Regions from separate parts of the Homo sapiens genome. Here region 2 is linked to region 1. Evidence: promoter capture Hi-C in human tissues and cell types (Jung and others, 2019). All regions are on one chromosome and are shown on one strand. Each heading gives the region's core, a stretch centred on a gene start or on the middle of the fragment in contact. The rest is flanking DNA. Distances are from core to core; before and after follow the strand shown.

What was found. Contacts are between HindIII fragments. The study calls those that stand out against the background at their distance.
Region 2: a contact is called between a fragment that was not itself captured here and the fragment with the promoter of TIMP3 in region 1, in 1 of the 25 tissues and cell types used here (dorsolateral prefrontal cortex).

Annotation. Positions count from the first base shown.
Region 1 is chr22:32,800,104-32,803,795 of GRCh38, forward strand. It overlaps TIMP3 (TIMP metallopeptidase inhibitor 3), which reads left to right and starts at 1,602. Exons shown (of 5, transcript NM_000362.5): 1 at 1,602-2,019. The coding sequence starts at 1,899. The region is part of intron 6 of SYN3 (synapsin III); the gene reads right to left. The HindIII fragment of the contact is 19,598 bases long and covers 1-3,692 here.
Region 2 is chr22:33,934,532-33,938,223 of GRCh38, forward strand. No RefSeq gene overlaps it. Among named protein-coding and RNA genes, the nearest start is that of LARGE1-AS1, 15 kb to the left of the region's middle. The HindIII fragment of the contact is 3,756 bases long and covers 108-3,692 here.

The DNA of each region.
Region 1 (3,692 bases), core at 352-2,851:
ATACCATCTCTCACGAATTCTTCGGCCTCTGCTGTCCCAATGTCACTTGTCTGAGATGTAAACAGAGGAGTTCTGAGAAAGAAGCTGAACTTGCATTTCTCCCTGTTTCTATTTGTTCCAAACTTGTGGCATTTCTAACAGGATGAAGCGGAAGAGAAAGGGAAAGAGACAAAAGTGTAGAAAGATGGAAGATCCCAGCTGCAAATGGCCATTTGCAGTTAGATGGAACAGCTGCTGACGTTCAGGGAAATGCATGTCTCTCTTCAGATGGGAAGGAGCAGTGGAAAGGGGTGACGAGTTCCTGGCTGGCCACCAATCATCCCATCTTTCTGTGCCGGTTCCTCATCTGGAAAGTGGGAGTGATACTTGTGCTTGCTTTTCCTACCCACAAAGATTATTGTGAGAGCTATAATACGGTGAGATACAGAATCCTGCTTTTAAAAATACAAAGCAGAATCAAGATGTCAATAATAAGGATAGTAATTGTGTTAGTTATCTGCAATCATCTATTATAGCTAGTCGTCTAGGATCCTGGATCGTTCTCCTGGTTTTACTACAGTTTTGGATCAGCTCACCCCCAAATCCCTTGCTGAAGGGTGGAGCTCTGTCAGCCATGGGCAGGGAACCACTTCCTCTTGCCTTTCTACTTTCTGTCTTTCAAACATGCCCAGGGTCTTTGCACTTGCTGTTCCCCCTGCCTGGTACCTCTCTCCTGTGGCTTGCCCCAGAGCTGATCCTTGTCTTTGTCCACTTCTCAGCGAGGATGGCACTTCAGGGAGCCCTTCCCTTACTATCGCAGAGAGAGCAGGCCCTCCCCAGTCATGTCCAACCCAGAACTCTGTTTTGTTTTCTTCATAGCCCTAGCATCACAGAAAATCACCCTGTGCATTCATGGATGTCCACGGGGGCAAGGGCTTTGTGTTGCTTAACCCAGCATCCTGAACCGTGTTTGTTGAATGAATACAGAACCCCGTTTGCTCTGGGAGAGCACAGAAAACAGTCTTCTATCATATATCATAGCCAGCTGCAAACAGCAGATGGCTTCCCATATCCCAGAGAGTAAGAACCAGAGAGAGAGAGAAAGAGAGAGAGTTTGGGTCTTTCTCCTCTGTGCCTGCTCTCTCCAGAGAAACTGGAGGGGTAGCAGTTAGCATTCCCCCGCTGGTTCCACCAAGCACAGTCAAGGTCTCTAGGACATGGCCACCCCTCACCTGTGGAAGCGGTCCTGCTGGGGTGGGTGGGTGTTAGTTGGTTCTGGTTTGGGTCAGAGACACCCAGTGGCCCAGGTGGGCGTGGGGCCAGGGCGCAGACGAGAAGGGGCACGAGGGCTCCGCTCCGAGGACCCAGCGGCAAGCACCGGTCCCGGGCGCGCCCCAGCCCACCCACTCGCGTGCCCACGGCGGCATTATTCCCTATAAGGATCTGAACGATCCGGGGGCGGCCCCGCCCCGTTACCCCTTGCCCCCGGCCCCGCCCCCTTTTTGGAGGGCCGATGAGGTAATGCGGCTCTGCCATTGGTCTGAGGGGGCGGGCCCCAACAGCCCGAGGCGGGGTCCCCGGGGGCCCAGCGCTATATCACTCGGCCGCCCAGGCAGCGGCGCAGAGCGGGCAGCAGGCAGGCGGCGGGCGCTCAGACGGCTTCTCCTCCTCCTCTTGCTCCTCCAGCTCCTGCTCCTTCGCCGGGAGGCCGCCCGCCGAGTCCTGCGCCAGCGCCGAGGCAGCCTCGCTGCGCCCCATCCCGTCCCGCCGGGCACTCGGAGGGCAGCGCGCCGGAGGCCAAGGTTGCCCCGCACGGCCCGGCGGGCGAGCGAGCTCGGGCTGCAGCAGCCCCGCCGGCGGCGCGCACGGCAACTTTGGAGAGGCGAGCAGCAGCCCCGGCAGCGGCGGCAGCAGCGGCAATGACCCCTTGGCTCGGGCTCATCGTGCTCCTGGGCAGCTGGAGCCTGGGGGACTGGGGCGCCGAGGCGTGCACATGCTCGCCCAGCCACCCCCAGGACGCCTTCTGCAACTCCGACATCGGTAAGCGCTCCTGGTGCCCCGCCCGAGCCCCACGCTGCAGCCAGGACTGCAGCGCTGCTTAGGGAGGCAGGGCGAGCCCCACTCCTTTCCTCTGCCCCAGGAGAGGGGCAGACGGGGTTGGGGCGGAGTGGAGAAACTCGATGTCCTTGGGCGGGGGCGCTGGCATAGCTGAGAGGGGAAGATGCCCTGCAGAGGAAACTCACAGTGGCTGAGGGAGCCCCTGGCCGCCTTTGCTTTCCTAACTTAGGTCGTGAGGTTCCTACCGGTCCTTTTGACATCTGGAAAATGTCCCCATTCACTACTAACGGAGGAAGGGCTAGAAGAGAAGGGTGGGGAAAGGGTTCCCAAAACTTGGAATGCTAACTAAAGTGCTGGGAAATTGAATAGTTAAAAAAAAAAAAAAAAGTTGCCCGCCATGTGCACGGAAAGTTGCAGGAGAAACTTGGAGTACTCCGAGTCTGCATCATCTCCTGCGCCTATGAAATTCATTCTTTTCACTGAGACCCAACCCAGCTGCAGGCTTCCCAGGCAAGCGCTAACCGAGCTTCTGGGACTGCCAAGTTTGGGTGGATTTAAGGGGGAAAATGAGGAGAAAGCTGTGGCATTGACCCACGCCCTGGAGGCACTGTGTTTGAGAGTGTTGATAGCCAGCAGAAGGTGCGAGGGGTCACTCACCACATAGCTGTGAAAATTCACAGGAAGGCTATTTTTTTCCCCCTTGAATGTGTGTGGGGAGGGGGAGAATGGGTAGTGGAAAACAGATTTGTCACCAAAAGAACAAACCTGCCAAGGGTCACATCACGGTGACAGTTCCAGACTGGACTTAGTGTCTTGAGTAGAGAGACCCTGTAAAGAGACCTCCTACTCCTTAGTGTGTATGGAGGGCCCCGAGAGCATCCTGGGAGGCTTGTCTGGGAGTGTTTGGGACACTTGTGTTTGGATGGCTAAAGGTGGAGTGGCATCTGGGAAACATCTCTCTCCTCCTTTCCAGCCCATAAAGCGTGCAAGTCCAGTGGCTCTGCTGGGAGAGTGTGTGTGTGTGCACTGGGCTGGGCTGGGCGGTGGGGTGGGACAGCCTTGCCGCCCTCTGCCTGTGTCGATTCAGAGGTGAAGAATGGAGCGTGTGTGTTTTAAGTACAGTCATAAAGGAGAAGGAAATTTTCCACTGAGTCTTGGGTGAGGGACTCTACCAGCGTGTTGTGGTGAGGAGGGGGAGGAGGTAGGAGCTTGGCAGGGGAGGCAGTGAGGGCCGGGAGGGGCACTGCTGGTGGGCTGGGCTGAGCCTAGAGGTCAGAGTGGGGGTGTGGTGACCAGAATGTCAGTGCAGTTGGCAGCTGAGGGTGTTTGTGTGACCTGAGGTCACCCTTGTAAGAGGCTCCCTGGGGCCTGCATGGTACATCCTCCCCTCTCCTGGGGGAACCCAGCTGGCCCAGGATTTGTGGATTGCTTAGAAAGATCCTTTTGGGCAGCCTGAAGACTGGGGAGGGTTTTCCTCCCTCCTCCACCTCCACCCACATTCCACTTACCCTTTCCCTCCTCATCCCAGTTGGTAACATTCCCACCTGATTAGTGTGGGGAGTTGCTGCTGCAGCTGAGTTCTGGTTTTGCCCAGCAGGATCACACACGTGCGGCCAGGAGGCTGGCAGGTGGAATCAGGGTGTGCAGGGGTGCAG
Region 2 (3,692 bases), core at 736-3,235, 1.1 Mb after region 1:
CCAACACAGTGAAACCCATCTCTACTAAAATACAAAAAATTAGCCAGGCATGGCAGCATGTGCCTGTAATCCCAGCTACTCAGGAGGCTGAGACAAGAGAATTGCTTGAACCTGGGAGGCGGAGGTTGCAGTGAGCCGAGATCGTGCCATTACACTCCAGCCTGGGCGACAGAGCAAGACTCTGTCTCAAAAAAATAAATAAATAAAGTAGGAGTTATTCAGAGAATTAGTGAGTTTAAAAAGTGTTCCAGGTAGGAGGTATAGCATGTGCAAAGCAATGAGGCAGGAGAACTTGCCATGTCTGAACAACTAAACAAAGTTCAGTATAGCTGGAGCTTAGTGAGTAGGAGGGAGAGTCTTGAAGAGAACAATAGGACATGAACAGCTATTGAGGGTATTTAGGGGAATCAAAAGAGATGAATAAATGGATTGCCAAGTAGCAGTGTGGTCCCACTGAAAACTCAGGCTTGATTTACCTTGAGCTTCCGATTCTCCTGCCTCAGCCTCCTGAGCAACTGGGACTACAGGCGTGCACCACCAAGTCCAACTAATTTTTGTATTTTTAGTAGAGACAGGGTTTCACTAATTCACTTAGCATGAATTAATGCTGATCCGAGTCAGCACAGTTCTGGAACCTTCTCCAACAATATTCTGTCACTCTGTCTTCCAGTTTTGCCTCTGTTAGGACGAGCAGGAAACCCAGCTCAAACTTTTGTCATGCTCTCAACTGCATCTCTCTAATTCTCACTGCAATACAGACTTGACCTCCTCATGTAGCCTAATCTTAAACTCTATTCTGGGAACACCCTGTCTTCAACAGGGAGCTTACCTGAAAACTGTCAGTGATTCTTTGACTCAAAACTGAATTGGTTTATGCTATTCTCTCTCACCCCATCCCCTTCTACCTCCCTCCCAGTGGGAATAGGATGGCATTTTAATAATCATGGATTTGGCTGGGCGTGGTGGCTCATGCCTGTAATCCCAGCACTTTGGGAGACCAAGGTGGGTGGATCACGAGGTCAGGAGTTCGAGACAAGCCTGGCCAAGATGGTGAAACCCCGTCTCTACTAAAAATACAAAAACTAGCCGGGCTTGGTGGCGCATGCCTGTAGTCCCAGCTACTTGGGAGGCTGAGGCAGGAGAATCGCTTGAACCCGGGAGGCGGAAGTTGCAGTGAACCGAGATCATACCACTGCACTCCAGCCTGGGCAACAGAGCGAGACTCCATCTCAAAAATAATAATAATAATCATGGATTTGCTGGGACTACTTCCTATCAGCTGCTTGGCTCCAAGCTTCCATTTTAGAGAGCTCATGGCCCATCCCAGCTTCCCTTTAGAATACAATTTATCATCTTATTTTATAAACCACTGGCTCTTTTTTTTGGTTCAAGCATCCACCTTGACTTCTCATTCTGGAAAGCCCCTAATGTTACATGGATAGCATTTACATATGGCATCTTTAATCCTTCCAACCGAATGTCTGGAGGTGATTCTCAGTGTTAACTTAATCTTCTCCACTTGCACCAAAAATTAATTTCCTATTCTTTAGACCTTGGTAGAAACCAGACGATTTGGTCACCACCCTCCATGTGGAGGCAATATTCAGTTACAAAAAGTAATTAAATCACCCTGTTCAACCTTCCTTTTGCCAGACTGATTTAAATCCCTGAAATCATTTTTTTTCCCTTTAGGTCACATATTTAGGCCCTATGTACTTAAAGGGCTTTCAAGAGTAAGTCTTATTATTTACCAGAGTAAAAGCTTTCCAGAAATAATAACAACCACAAGGACAACAATACCTTACAACTTGATGGCATTTAACTTTTTTTCCCAGTGCTTTTTTTTTTTTTTTTTTTTTTTTTTTGGCAAATACATTATCTTCTTTTACTCACTTAATGACTGTGAATTAGGGAAGGTAGATGTTATTTTCTCTGGGAAAAACAATAAAACTCAGCCTAGGAGTTAACTCCAGTAGAGGAACAGGATCCACTTGGACCCATGTAAGGCTTCGACCTCATCACTATAGCCTCCCTCAGAACCTCAGCTGACGTGCTTCTCTGTGGACTGCCTCCACATTTTATCAAAGGTCACCCAAGGATAATAATAGCCAACCTTTCTTGAGCATTTAATGTATGTCAGACACTGCACCCCCTGAGTCCTTTATATGCATCTTATTTTTCCAGCATCATGATGAAGGAGATGGCTCTATTATTAGACAAGTAAGATGAAGCTCAAGGAGGTTAAAGGACTTCCTCGGGATCATCACAGCTCAAACAGCAGAAGCTTCAGTCCCTGTGTGCTTAGATAGAAGGCTTTACTGCCCCAAGAATCAACTGAATGGACCTCTCCTCTATGTTCATTGTGGAATTCTTGGTGAGGACATTGTCTGTCACCTTCTGGAATGTTCTTATATAATACCTCCTTTCGGAAAATTCTTTCAATAGGTACAACATGCTTTCTTGGAGGAAAAAGTTTGCTGTTGTTAACATTGTGGTTTTTGTTTTGTGTTTTGTTTGGTTTTGTTTGAGACGGAGTCTCGCTCTGTCGCCAGGCTGGAGTGCAGTGGCGGGATCTACCTCCGCCTCCTGGGTTCAAGTGATTCTCCTGCCTCAGCCTCCCGAGTAGCTGGGATTACAGGTGCCCGCCACCATGCCTGGCTAATTTTTTTGTATTTTTAGTAGAGACAGGGTTTCGCCATGTTGAACAGGCTGATCTTGAACTCCTAACCTCAGGTGATCCGCCCGCCTCGGTCTCCCAAAGTGCTGGGATTACAGGCGTGAGCCACCGCGCCCGGCCTGTTTTGTGTTTTTATTACTACTTTCAGTGAATAAAAAGGTGTGTCATAGTGGAAAATAACAAGAGTTAGGAATTCGTTCTGGCTTAGAATGCTTGTTGGGAATCGAAACTTGATGGGTTTAGTTGCTGCTCTGTCACCTGCATGCTTGTGTAACTTTATACAAGTTGCTTTATCTCTTTGAGCCTTGATTAATTTAATTTCTAAAGTGACAAAGTCATAGCAAATTTAAGGATTGCTATAAATGCTGGAGATAATACATGTGAGAATACTACTGTAGTATTAGTGTGTCATTTTTGTGGGGACAAGGGACTACCCAAGGTTGGAATATCCTTCTTTTTTTGTTTGTTTTCCTTTGTGCGTGTGTGTGTGTGTGTGTGTTTGTGTGTGTGTGTGTGTTGTGCTGCTGGAGTGCAGTGGCATGATCACAGCTCACTGCAGTCTCGACCTCTCAGGTTCAAGTGATCCTCCCACCTCTGCCTCCAGAGTACCTGGGACCACAGATGCATGCCACCACACCTAGCTAATTAAAAAAAAAAAAATTGTAGAGACAGGATTTCACCATGTTGCCCAGGCTGGTCTTGAACTCCTGAGCTCAAGTGACCTGCCCACCTTGGCCTCCCAAAGTGTTGGTATTACAAGTGTGAGCCACTGTACCCAGCCAGAATATCCTTCTTACTCAGGATGAAATTCTCATTACTTTGGTCTTAGTGGAAAATAGGGTCCCAATTTCTTTTCTTTTCTTCTTCTTCTTCTTTTTTTTTTTTTTTTTTTAGATGGAGTCTCGATCTGTCACCAGGCTGGAGTTCAGTGGCACAATCTCAGCTCACTGCAACTTCTGCCTTCAGGGTTCAAGCAATTCTCCTGCCTCAGCCTCCCAAGTAGCTGGGACTACAG